3 separate regions of the Homo sapiens genome follow, and regions 2 and 3 are each linked to region 1. The links are contacts of gene promoters, found by promoter capture Hi-C in human tissues and cell types (Jung and others, 2019). All regions are on one chromosome and are shown on one strand. The core of a region is centred on a gene start or on the middle of the fragment in contact, and the rest is flanking DNA. Distances in the headings are between cores, read along the strand shown.

Evidence for each region. The method cuts DNA at HindIII sites, captures the fragments that hold promoters and counts their contacts. A contact is called where the count stands out against the background at its distance.
Region 2: a fragment that was not itself captured here is called in contact with the fragment with the promoter of SUPT4H1 in region 1 in 1 of the 25 tissues and cell types used here (hippocampus).
Region 3: a fragment that was not itself captured here is called in contact with the fragment with the promoter of SUPT4H1 in region 1 in 1 of the 25 tissues and cell types used here (dorsolateral prefrontal cortex).

Annotation. Positions count from the first base shown.
Region 1 is chr17:58,349,691-58,353,879 of GRCh38, forward strand. SUPT4H1 (SPT4 homolog, DSIF elongation factor subunit) reads right to left here and starts at 2,511. Exons shown (of 5, transcript NM_003168.3): 1 at 2,377-2,511; 2 at 1,712-1,818. The coding sequence starts at 2,445. TSPOAP1-AS1 (TSPOAP1, SUPT4H1 and RNF43 antisense RNA 1) reads left to right here. Exons shown (of 5, transcript NR_038410.1): 4 at 2,054-2,224; 5 at 2,309-4,037. RNF43 (ring finger protein 43) reads right to left here. Exons shown (of 10, transcript NM_017763.6): 10 at 3,986-4,189. RefSeq lists silencers at 2,085-2,194, 2,475-2,904 and an enhancer at 3,292-3,827. The HindIII fragment of the contact is 5,411 bases long and covers 1-4,189 here.
Region 2 is chr17:57,996,548-58,000,835 of GRCh38, forward strand. It overlaps a transcript of SRSF1 not described here. Among named protein-coding and RNA genes, the nearest start is that of SRSF1, 8.6 kb to the right of the region's middle. The HindIII fragment of the contact is 5,520 bases long and covers 1-4,262 here.
Region 3 is chr17:57,979,619-57,984,013 of GRCh38, forward strand. VEZF1 (vascular endothelial zinc finger 1) reads right to left here. Exons shown (of 6, transcript NM_007146.3): 2 at 3,081-3,775; 3 at 2,255-2,318; 4 at 985-1,168. Among named protein-coding and RNA genes, the nearest start is that of VEZF1, 6.4 kb to the right of the region's middle. The HindIII fragment of the contact is 6,153 bases long and covers 1-4,395 here.

The DNA.
Region 1 (4,189 bases), core at 1,261-3,760:
AATATTATTCAGCTCAAAAGAGGAGGGAAATTCTGTTGCATACTACAATATGAATGAACCTTGAAGACATTATGTTGGTGAAAGAAGCTAAAAAATGCTACTGAATGAGCCCATAGGTACCTAAGGGTGCCTAAGGTGGCCAAATTCATAGAGACAAAGCATGGTGGTTGTCAGGGACAGGAGGGAGGAGAGAACGAGGAGCTAGTGTTTAATGGGTACAGATGAAAAAAGTTCTGGAGATGGATGGTGGTGACGGTTGCACAACAGTGAGTATGCACTAATGCCACTGAATTGTGTATTTAGAAATGGCGACCGGGCACAGTGGCTCATGCCTGTAATCCCAGCACTTTGTGAGGCTGAGACGGGAGGATCACCTGAGGTCAGGAGTTCGAGACCAGCCTGGCCAGCATGGCAAAACCCTGTCTCTACTAAAAAAAGTACAAAAATTAGCTGGGCGTGGTGGTGGGCGCCTGTAATCCCAGCTACTCAGGAGGCTGAGGTAGGAGGCGGAGGTTGCAGTGAGCTGAGATCGTGCCATTGCAGCCGGGCGCTGTGGCTCACTCCTGTAATCCCAGCACTTTGGGAGGCCGAGGCGGGTGGATCACGAGGTCAGCAGTTCAAGACCAGTCTGACCAACATGGTGAAACCCCGTCTCTACTAAAAATACAAAAATTAGCTGGGTATGGTGGCAGGTGCCTGTAATCCCAGCTACTCAGGAGGCTGAGGCAGAGAACTGCTTGAACCTGGGAGGCGGAGGTTGCAGTGAGCCGAGATTGCGCCACTGCACTCCAGCCTGGGCGACAGAGCGAGACTCCATCTCAAATAAATAAATAAATAAATAAATAAGTAAAATGGCTAAAATGGGCCGGGCATGGTGACTCATACTTGTAATCCCAGCACTATGAGAGGCCGAGGTGGGCAGATCACCTGAGGTCAGGAGTTTGAGACCAGCCTGGCCAACATGGTGAAACCCCGTCTCTACTAAAGATATAAAAATTAGCTGGGAGTGGTGGTGGGTGCCTGTAATCCCAGCTACTCAAGAGGCTGAGGCAGGAGAATTGCTTGAACCCAGGAGGCAGAGGTTGCAGTGAGCCGAGACTGCACCATTGCACTCCAGCATGAGTGGCAAGGGCGAAAAGTCTGTCCAAAAAAAAAAAAAAAAAAAAAGCAACAGCTTTTGGGCAATGATCTACCATTACTACACCTCCCTTCCCTTCATTTTCAAAAAAAATTTTCATGCATTTAACAAACATTATTAAGATTACATTCTTTCTTCTCATGTTAAGTCTTTGAAATCTGGGGTATATTTTATACTTAAAAGCATGTCTTAATTTGGACTAGACACATTTCAAGTGCTCAGTAGCTACACGTGGATAGTGGTCACTGTATTAGATGCATAGCACTAGTATGTCCCAAAATAACTGTTGAGGCTGGACACAGTGGCTTACACCTATAATCCCAGCACTCTGGGAGGTTGAAGTCAGAGGATCATTCCACGCTGCAGTGAGCTATGATCATGCCACTGCACTCCAGCCTGAGCCACAGAGCAAAACCCTGATTCAAAAAAAAAAAAAAAAAAAAAAACCCACACAAAATAACCCCCAAAAACGAATGGCTGGGCCCAACTAGGATTAACACTTGCCCTGCATTTACTTCTCTGGGTGCAGGTTGGGTAATGCAGAAGTGAATGATGGAAACTGAAGCGGCTTACCCATCAAAGGAAGAGCTAGTGCAGTCATATACCATCTCTCGGTTACCCTTCATTTGTAGATATGCATCACAATTGTCACAACCATCATATTCAAACTGGTCTATAGTCTGGGAGTGAAAGAAAAATAAAGGAAAAGGAGAGATAAGCATGAACAAGACCAAGAGAAAAAGTAGCTTTCTCAATACTTCGACCTGCTCAATTTCTTGTTTCCCTATGTTGACTGTGTATCCTAAGGTTCCCCACCTACTACTCTCAAAGCTTCATTCCTAAGTCCCACCCTCCCACTCCTTCCTCTCTCGTTCCCAATTCCGTTTTATCTATTCCTTTCTCTAGTCTACTCAGGGTCAGGCATCCTTTCCGACTACTCACTCAGCAGCGGATCCCCACCCGCCTCTGACTCCCAGTGTCTTTCGGCTCCAACGTAAGTTCACCGAACGTCTAAGAGCTGAGGATTCAAAGGCATGTAAGACCGCCCCTGCCCTCAGCTGCAAGACCTGTCCGCGATCCTACGAGGTAAACGATGGCCTCCTTCGGCTTCTCACTCCCCCTGCCACCTCTGAGTTCTGAGACTTAACTTTTCTCTTTACTGTCCCACAGCCCCATTCCGCCCTCTTTCCCCGACCTTGGTCCCCCATGGGCCCTACAACCAGGTCCCCGACTGACACCTTGACCAGCGAACACAGCAAACAGGCCCGCAGATGCCGCAGGTCCTTCGGCACCGTCTCCAGGGCCATCTTCGCCGATGGGAAGAACAACAGGGAGATAGACGACCACAGCCTGTGCACCCGCAGGAAGTAAATAGCTCGTTACCCAGAATGCCCACCACTTCCGGCGCTTAGACTTCCTCTTCCGGTGTGGGCGGACGCCAGCTCCGCCCCTACCCCCGCCAGAGGAGATGGTTTCTCCCGCCAGCAGGCGGGGAGGCTGGGCGGCCGGCCGCCACCTGGGCCGGAGCGCGTCGCAGCCACCTGAGCCCGCCGAGGGCGCGGCGGAGGCTGTGTGGGGTAGTCAGCGGGCCCCCGGGGCGGGGGGGCGGCTGCGCTTGCGCGGGAGTGTGTCGGGCTGAGCCGCAGCGCCGAGACGCGGGCTGTTTGATCTGGGCTGGTGGCCCTGGGCGTCGGTCCTGTTCCCCGATGGTAACCCGAAGTTTGTTTTTTTTTGTTTTGTCTCCCCGTTTTAGAAGCATTGGGGGCAGTGAATCCACTGTCTCCCTCTGGATTGTCTCTGCAGAGACCGAGAAGAAATCCAGGGACAGCCCCACCCCTCCTTCCTAACTGCGAGAGCGCTATAGGGTTTCCACTTGCTTCCCACAGGAATGCTGGCCTGGGAGCTACGGCGGAAAAAAATGCGTATTTATCTTTTAAAACTCCGTCTGTTTGCTCGTTCCGGCTGATAATTTATACTTTGCGCAGTTCTTAGCGCTTAGACACGGTTCCTTTACTAAAGACCATTTGTAGGAGATTAGGTGTCCTTTTTTTCCCTTTCATTTCACCGTCTAGGAAGCGAAATGCCTTGTTCTATAGGCACTAAACCACCACCCCTACCAAACCTTTCTCGGGGAAGCAGAAGGGGAACTTGTGCCTTGTGAGGAAGCGACAAAGGCCCCTTCTGGCCCTGGAGACTTCACGCCAATGGAGCACCAGCTCTCTGTCCTCGCAATAGCCCGAGTGCAGGCAGAACGCAGTCATTTGTGTTTATCTGAGAGGAGCTTTGGGATATAAATAGTTTCAGGCCCCGCTGCGCTGTCATTCCAGCCCAGCCTCCTGATTGAGCTGCTTCCGGGCGGGCTTTCTTCTTGTTGGCGGTCCCATGCTGTGTTCAGATGGGCTCTGTGACAGGTTTGGATGTTTTCTATCACTGAATAAAACTTTCCACTTTGGAACATATTTTCTACACTCTATTATCTCATGTAAGTCCTGCAACAACTATTAAGTAGGCCCATTTTATGGACTGAAAAAGCGAGGCACAGAGTATTTGCCCAAGGTCTGAGTCACTGAAGTATGATAATGTGTGAAGTGAACAGTATAATAATAATGACTGAAGCACAGTAAGAATCCAGTCATGCTTTCTCCTTCCCTGATCTCACTAAGCCACACTTTTAGGGGCTTACAAACCAGTTCTTATTGCCAAGCCCTCTACTCTACCCTATCCTTTCATGAATCGGAGCCTAGCCTCTGATAACATAAATAATTTACTTCTCTTGATGTAGAAAGAGATGACGTTGTTACCCTGAGTGACAGTCACGACAGAACAAAACCACAAGACCAGACCACATTTGTGGATAAATATATTAGCAAATAAATATATTTCTTAACATAGTGCCTGATTCAAGCGTCTGTCTGGTTCAGATATAAATACCCATGTGGGTACCTAGGTGCTAGTCTCCCCACTAACTGAGGGAAAAAGGTTCCCAGGTGGGGTCCTCTGCCCACTTTGCCACCACATTCACATTCCAAATGGGATAATGCCTGAGGGGCC
Region 2 (4,288 bases), core at 253-2,752, 350 kb before region 1:
ATACACATTAAACTAGAGAACAGCTTAAGGGCAACATGTCCACCTGCACATATAGCACTTTTTAAAACATGAAGAAAAGCAAATAAGAAACAACGCAATTAGTTCAAGAATGCTTCAGTCATTAGGTGTGATCATGAAGGGGTGAGATTTTTAATGGCAAAAGGAATGGGGCTGCTTATGGGATTTATGATGTGGGGTGTTAAAATGTATGGATGCTGGGTCTCTTGGTTTTGAGAGAATTGTTTAAGCTAGCTGATCCTATAAACCTAAAGACCAGGGTCAGGGTCCTAAAGTTAATGCTTAAGACTCCCAACCCAAGGAATAATATACATGCTATCTAGTCTCTTCACAATACATCGTTATGTATTAATCTCTTTATGAATAGTTACCAACAACAAAAAAACAACCAAAATGATTCCATCCCAAAGAGAAATATGCAGGAATTCTCATTGAGGCAATACCACTAAATTCTGAGGCAACTTAAAGCTTCCTCTGTAAGAAGCTTAAAAGAGAATGACTGAAAAAGGATACCTAGGAGGCAACTATTTAGTCTTTTTGGAGACAATGTCATCAATTCTTGGTGATCTGTACTGAAAGTGTGCACAGCTTACATCAAAACCACTTACTTTGGTCTTACAATTGGTCTTACTTTGCAAGACCAATTCTGGGAGCAACATTTACTTATCCAATTATACTTGGACTTAGGCTAGCATTTAGATTAATTCAAATTTTCTGGCTTCACATCTGAGGAGTTATTAGTATTAAAATACCTTCTCCAATAATCCACCCAGTTAACGAATAGCTTGTGAAACAGACTTCTACAGTGCTTTGCTTTTAGGGAATACTAAATTCTTCCCATCTCGCCCATCAATATTAAAACTGTCAGCACTGCATTTAGCTCATTGGGAAATATAAATATATTCAGTTCCTGGGTCTGTAGAGTTAAAAAATACATGTATTTACCAAATCAACCAGGGTAGGGGAAGATGTGATTGAGAACAGGATAAATTGGAAAGGTAGAATATAACCCATTGTTAACTCATATTAAGGGAGTGACATGTTTTAAGGATCTGGAGTCACTGAAACCAGCTTTAACACTTCAGTAATATGAATTTGGGTACAGACAAAAATGCTGATATGGCAACTGGAGATGGGAAGACAAATCCAAACAGCATCTTGAAGAACTCTATTTGGCAAGTAAACACATCTCTAGGTTAATCTAAATCATAGATGCGGTGGCACCCTGAAGACACAGAACTTGACTATCACCTTGCTGCAAATTTACTATTTTTAGAGTACAAAGGAGCCATTTGAGTTTTCTTTGGAATGTGCTTGTTACACTGCGAACCAACATTTTACATTTCTAGCCTTAAGTTGTGGATGTCAGCCAGGTGCGCTGGCTCACACCTGTATTCCCAGCACTTTGGGAGGCCGAGGCGGGCGGATCACTTGAGATCAGAAGTTCAGAGACCAGCTGAGCCAACATAGTGAAACCCTGTCTCTATGAAAAATACAAAAATTAGCCAGGTGTGGTGATGGGCACCTGTAATACCAGCTACTTGGGAGGCAGGAGAATCGCTTGAACCCGGGAGGCGGAGGTTGCAGTGAGCCGAGATTGTGCCACTACACTCCAGCCTGGGTGACAGAGTGAGACCCTGTGTCAAAAACAAAGACAAAAAAAATGTGAATGTCACTCTTGGTGTTATTTTATAGTTCAAATTTCTACCACCGTTAAGGGTAGAAGACATTCACCCAGCACTTCCCAGTCCTATCTAAAGGTTATACCTTCCCTTTTGCTTGACTGATCCTATAATCTTATGTATTAAGCCTTAATAATTGTTGAAAGCTTATCCCAAAATGACATATAAAGACTCCTCCTCTAATACACAGCACCTGAGGGAACAATTCTACCATGGTTTTTCTTAGCACTTTACAATCTCCAGGTTTAGCACTTTTCTTTCTACAAGGAGAATTCTGAATTTTCATTTGCCTAATTTGTGGCTTCAGAGTGCATCTTCAAAAGTTATTTAAAAATTATCAAAGGGACACCAGAGCTAACATTTACAGGATTAAAGACAGGCTTCAATCTAGTTAGTGCCCTTTCAGCTGTCAATCCAATTTGCAGCAAGACTACTAGTTAACAGTAACTACCTTCTGTAGCTTTCCTTGCTACTTAGTGTTACCTTAGCAGGCAGGGAAATCTCTACTGTGTAAACTTGATTACTTTTCCCCCCACAAGAAGTCCACTTTGTCCACTTTTAGTGCTTTATTCTTTGAAACAGACTGATTTTCTAAAATTAACATTTTAAGGCCAGTTGTCCCACACCTGTCTTCTGGATGACTAAATCCCATCATATGGGCCTAAAAGGTTTAGTATTCTCAATGACAATTTATACTGTAAACAGGAGACAAGTTTGTGTCCTTTCCATTTTTTATAAAAGAAACCTGGGGAGAAAGCGGTGATGGGAATGACAGATACTAAAAGTGTTAAATTTTCAGTAATTTTCAGCTGTTAATATGGCATTAACTACTGTGTCTACTGACTTTTTGATCACAAGACAACCTGCTACTTAAGTGAGGCCTAGAAAATAGAAAACAGCTAAGCTGACACATAAGTAGGATTTTAAGACAAACTTTAAGAACCTCTTAGTAATACTGAGAAGATCATCACACCTGAAACTGTCACTCCATAAAAGCAAACTGCAGGTCTCTAAAAGCATATTCATTTCTTCTAGTTCATAACCAAATTGTTATGTCTAGTTTTCCCCAGCACACCTAACTCCTGTTCCCAATTCTCACATTCATGGCCTTATTATTCCATACCTGATGTACAAGGTAGGCAGAAAAACAAGCAGACTTATGTCTTCAGTATTTTCTTAGTCCCAGAACCTAGATTTGTTACAAAATGAGTGCCTGTAAGGTAAACTCTGAAAACCTAAATGGATGCAAAAGCTGAAAAGGGGAAGAATTTTACACAAAAGATGGGAAGACAAAGGTAAAGTTGCAAGAAAACTTACCCAAACCATCTAACTTTAGAGCTGATACAGAGGATCAAGGTAGTTAGCTGGTCTCTACTTTGTTCTATGTATCTATAATGGGGATTATTTCCTGCTTAATTTTGTGTTATAGCTCCCTCTAGTGGCTAAGTGATTTTCCCTAGCACTTACCAATGGAGAGCAGTACAGCATGTTGTAAAAAAACCAAACAAACAAACAAAAAAAATTAAGACCTATTTCTACAAGTTGTTTTTGTTCAAAGTGCATTTGGTGGAGATGAGTATAGCATCCTAGAGAAGCTGTTTCCACTATCTTCATGTCCACAGTTCTACCAATAGTTGGCACTTATAAGTTGTCTGGTAACAGAAGTCTGATGCTTTTTAACCCGATGCTTGAGTATCAAGCTGAACTAAGTGTTGTTTTGCTTACCTAAACAGTAAACTTCTTATGAAAAGTCATGAATGACTTTTCACCCCCTGAAATCCCAGCCTAGCACCTATTAAAATGTTGTAAATTACAAATGTTATATTTGCCTAAATTAACTTCTATATGACAGAGTCATTTATTCAATTTTTATTCTGTGCATTAATGAAGCACGGAGTGATTTTTATAATAATTAAAAAATCCTTCCTTTAATCACTACAAGCTCACAAGAACCCTCAGGGTTGTTAGGCATTAGCTTTCAAAGCTACCAAGAAGCACCGTGAAGGTCTCAATAACAGGAATAAGTACTGGTTTAAGTATACTATAATCTCTTGGGGTTTGTTTAAAGCAAGTTACTTTTGGCAGCATTACTATTCATTCAATAGACAATCACGATAGACATAATGAACAGATGTTTCCTGATAATCTCTTTACTTCATGCCAATCCCAGCTTTTCCTATAGGATCTAATTGGTCAATGTTCCTTTAAGTACTGATACAGAAACAATAACTCAAAAGAATGTTGTATTGTACACTCTAGGATGCCTGAGTATTTGCTTCAATGGGATATAATTGTTGAGTCCACTATTACAACAGAATGTAAAGAAATGTGGGCCATACCTTTTTTTCTTGTGGCTGCTTCAGCCTAAAAAGATGGGGGAACTTAAAATTCAATCAACAAAGGATTCACAATAACAGGTTTTTCAGTCAAGACACCCCAGTTACAGACAAAAGCATTAGGCCTGTGTATGCTAGTACAGTTCCTACAATCCCTTATATGAACTCTTTGGAGACAGACATATCTGGGATTCAGAGCTGTATGCACTTTATGAGGTACATATATACCCTGTATTACATAAAACCCTCAGC
Region 3 (4,395 bases), core at 564-3,063, 370 kb before region 1:
ACATTCAACAAAATTTTTTATTTGATCACAATAATGTACACTAAAAGTGAATGTTTATAGGCCGGGTGCAGTGGCTCATGCCTGTAATCCTAGCACTTTGGGAGGCCGAGGCAGGTGGACTGTCTGGGCTCAGGAGTTCGAGACCAGCCTGGGCAACACGGTGAAACGCCGTCTCTATGAAAATACAAAAAAAGTAGCAAAGGTAATCGGGCATGGCAGTGTGCACCTGTAATCCCAGTTACTTGGGAGGCTGAGGCAGGAGAATCGCTTGAACCCAGGAGGCGGAGGTTGCAGTGAGCCGAGATCGTGCCATTGCACTTCAGCCTGGGCAACAGTGTGAAGACTCCGTCTCAAAAAAAAAAAAAAAAAAAAACAAAAAAAACAGAAGTGAATGCTTATAAAGTACAACATACCAGTGTACTTACAAAGAAGTGTACTTACAAACCCAGTGTACTTACAAAGAAGTAAAAATGGATAGATTAACACACATTAAGCTTTCTTCCCCATTCTCTTGTGGCCACCTATTTTTTTGAGAATTTGATGTTTCTACTGCATAAAGTACATATATAATAGAATAAAGGATTAGGAAAATGCCTTCTTCTAGTGGTTAGGGCAATCTTAAAAGAAAAAGCCTGGGTAAATGCAAGTATTCTATCTTCAACTCTGAATTTAAGGCAAGCAAAGCATTTAAACCTTCAAGTGGATATGATATCTCATTTCTCTACAGATTTGGGTTTGAAAAGCAAGCTTATTAATACTGCTTTCACCTTAAAGGTTATTATTAGCTTATCAATGCTGTTTGCATACATGAAAGTAAAGCATAGTTCTGACATTAATATACTCTGTCCATTGTTGCCTGTTTGCACATGTTGGCAATAGGAGGAAACACGTAAGGTGAATATTAATACCTTTGATACAATATGAAAACATGCATATTTCACCCATCTGAAATATAAAAGAAAGAAAATCTGAAGCACCACCTACTTTTACTGATGCCTTGTTTACATGTATTACAGTTGATACTTTGGCTCTGCCCATGAGTCTTTAAGTGGCTGGTGATGTATGCTGCACTCAGGAGCTTCCCACAGATGTTACATGATACCTTGCCTTCATGGCGCACCATGTGTGTCCGCAGTCTGTCTTTGGTGGCAAAGGCAGCAGTGCACGTCTGCATGAGGGAGGAAAACTTTTTTTAAATATAGACTATCCTGTTCTACTCATTTTGAAGTACGTTATATTCTGTGCATTACCCTATCCACATCAGCAAGCTGACAACTAGTTGAATTTTAATTGCATATGTTACCTAGAATCATAATCATAATAAAACTCTTGATAAATTTTAGACTCTTCCATTTTGAAGGAAGAAAATACATCAACACAGAGTAGCACAAAAAATGTAAGCTTTAGGGTAAGTTAAACCTGGGTTTAAGTTGAGCTCCACAATTTACTAAATGGTGTAATGTTGAACAAGTTGGTTAACCTATCTGAAAGCTTCTTCATCTGTAAAATGGGGATAACATCTCTCACAAAATTACTGGTGGATTAAGAAAAGCCTGGTATACACAGCAGGCACTCACTCAATGACACTAGCTTCCTTCCTCCAATTAGATCTTTCTTAGCATTCAAATCATTTACTTAATAAAATCAGTCATTAACAAACTTAACTGAAAGGTGTACTAAAAGACTTCCAGCAACAAACTAAAATTACCAATGCCTAAAACAGTCATTTGATTTAGCAAAATTCTTAATGTTTTCGTTATTATAATTGATGTCAAATAAAATCATTAACTGGAATAGATTTTTAAACAACTAGAAAGTGTTCCAATTTGGTAATAACAAACAAAAATCTAGTAAGTGGTAACATTTGGGAGAAAAATTCATTATTTTCTCCTATTACAGTTAAAACAACTTCAATAATCAACCCAGAAATTAAAGCCCTTTATTCTTTTATTCATTTCAAATACACAACCACCTTTGCAAGACTGTAACTTTTTTTTCCTAACAAAAAATACTATTGCCCAAAGAAAGGGAAATATAGCTTAAAAAAAACAACACGCTTAAATTTTTAAATGATCTTGCTTTACAGAAACAGAAGCTGTCAGTTATATTTTATAAAACTAGAAGTCAAATGGGCCACATTTACTCAGGTCAGTGATTTTAAGACTATTCAAGAATGGTGAGATTCAACTGGCTCAGACCTTCTGGATAATGTGCATTAAGTGCTACACTAAGGATAAGTCATTTTAACTCTTACTTGGCATTTGAAGGGTCTTTCTGTTGAATGGACATGTTTTACATGACAGCTTAAGTGGTCAGGCCTGTGAAAAAGAGAGTTTCAACAGAAGATATAATCGAACACATAGAGAAATGCTACTTATGTGATGCTCACATGCTTGGCAGATTGGGAAGGGGTGCATTTTAGGGAAAGCTAGCAGAATTACCAACCTCCCTCCCCCGGTGCAAGTCTCCTTCCCTCTCTTACCATGAACAAAGTCTTAGGCCTCTACCTGTTAATTTTCTCTCCTAGTCAACATCAAATCATATTAGGTCTTGATTCTTTACAATTACAAAATACCCGAAGTTTTAGTCTTAACACTTGCCAGAAACAGCTACCACTATATTAACTCTAAAAGCTTTTATAAATGAAAATTAGTGAAATGTTGGTGCTCTCAGAAAAATGAAAAAACATTCTAAAAGTTTAATTAAGAGTATCCAAGGTCATCCCAACTTCCAAGAAATGTTACTTTAATTTGCCCAGTGAGCCTCATGTCTAGTCCCCCAACTGAACTGAAAACTGGTGGTTTTGCAGTGATAAGTATCCATGTGCCAAATGAAAGCCTGAGTCCACCGAGGCACTTGTTAAGTGAAAAAAACAGGTTAATCACTATGTCACCACTTGTCAATCACACCAAACTGAGGTTAGACCTGGAGGTGTTAATACTTATCTATCACCAATCTCCTCTAATAACACAGGTCTGCCCACATCTGTTCTCACATAAACATTCTAGATCACATGGAGACAAAACTGAAGTACACTGATACCATAATGAAGCAAAGCAAAGCAAAGCAAAATGCAGTACCTTGAGAAGCCTTTCCCACAAACACTGCAAGTATAGGGTTTGGTGATGCCTCCTTCATGAGACCTCACATGGTAAGTCATCCGGTCCTTCCTCTTGAAGCGCTGATTACAAATAGGACACTCAAAGGGTTTCTCATCTGAATGGGAGAGCTTGTGTCGATTGAGATGGTACACATCTCGGAAGGCCTTCCCACACATCTCACAAGCATGGTTCTTCTTGACAGGCTTACTGGGTTTCTTGACAGACTGGGTCACTGGCATAGCTGTGGTGCTGGCACTGCTACTGGGGTTGGTGCCCGAGGAAGATGTAGTGACTGTTGACAAGATGCCTGCAATGGTCGAGACCAACGAAGTTCGGCTGCTGTCCCCAGCGATGGTAGAGATAAGGGGAACCACCGTGGTGGGGGTTTTCTTTGGCCGGGACACCAACTTGATCCCTGTGTGGCAGGATTCGTGGCGCCTCAGGTGATAGCTGTCCCTGAAAGCTTTACTGCAGTAAGTGCACACAAATGAAGTTTTGGGTTTTTCTTTTTTAATCCCAATGGCATCCTTTAATGTTTCTGGTGCACCCTGAGGTTTCTGAGTTATTGGTATTGGAAGCAATGGTTTCTGATCAGGGGGCTCCACGGCAGAGCTCAGGAGGGGCAGCAAGCTGTTCTGTGCTGCCTGCTGTTGGTGATGGGAAGCTTCATGGGCCTAAAACCAAACATTTACACTTCAGAAACTCAGCCTCTCACAATGGCCTTCGAAATTCAACATGCTCCAGACAATAGAGACCAGAAGAAACAGTCAAAGAACCTATAAGCTACTCTGCAGTGGTAATCCAGCAACCACCTAGTTACTCTAAGAGCTCACAATACAAAGCATTGAAAAATCACTGTGCAGACACAAAACTTTTGCAACTAAGTTGCTGACAGTGATCTTGCTTTTAAACAGCTGACTAAACTACACACTATCCTGGTTCATAAGGGACAGACCAGCTGATGAAATCAGTTTGCATTAGTCTGTCAGCGCTGAAACCAAGTTTAAATAACTTACTTAAAAAAACCACTCCAGATTTAAGTATTTAATAGTACCTTACTGCAGCAATACACACATACACACTCACATACATGCAATAACACAATCATCTATTTGTCTATTATCCAGAAGAAAAGCATCATGTCTTTCTATCAGAAAACTCAGATTGAGGAAGGGGCTGTTGCTAAGTGATGAAAGAAATCTAGTTCTCTAAATACATTTGCTAGTCGTTAACGTTAAGTTTTCACTTGACTCTACTAAAAGGTTTGGTTGAAACAAAATCTGCTATGAAGCAA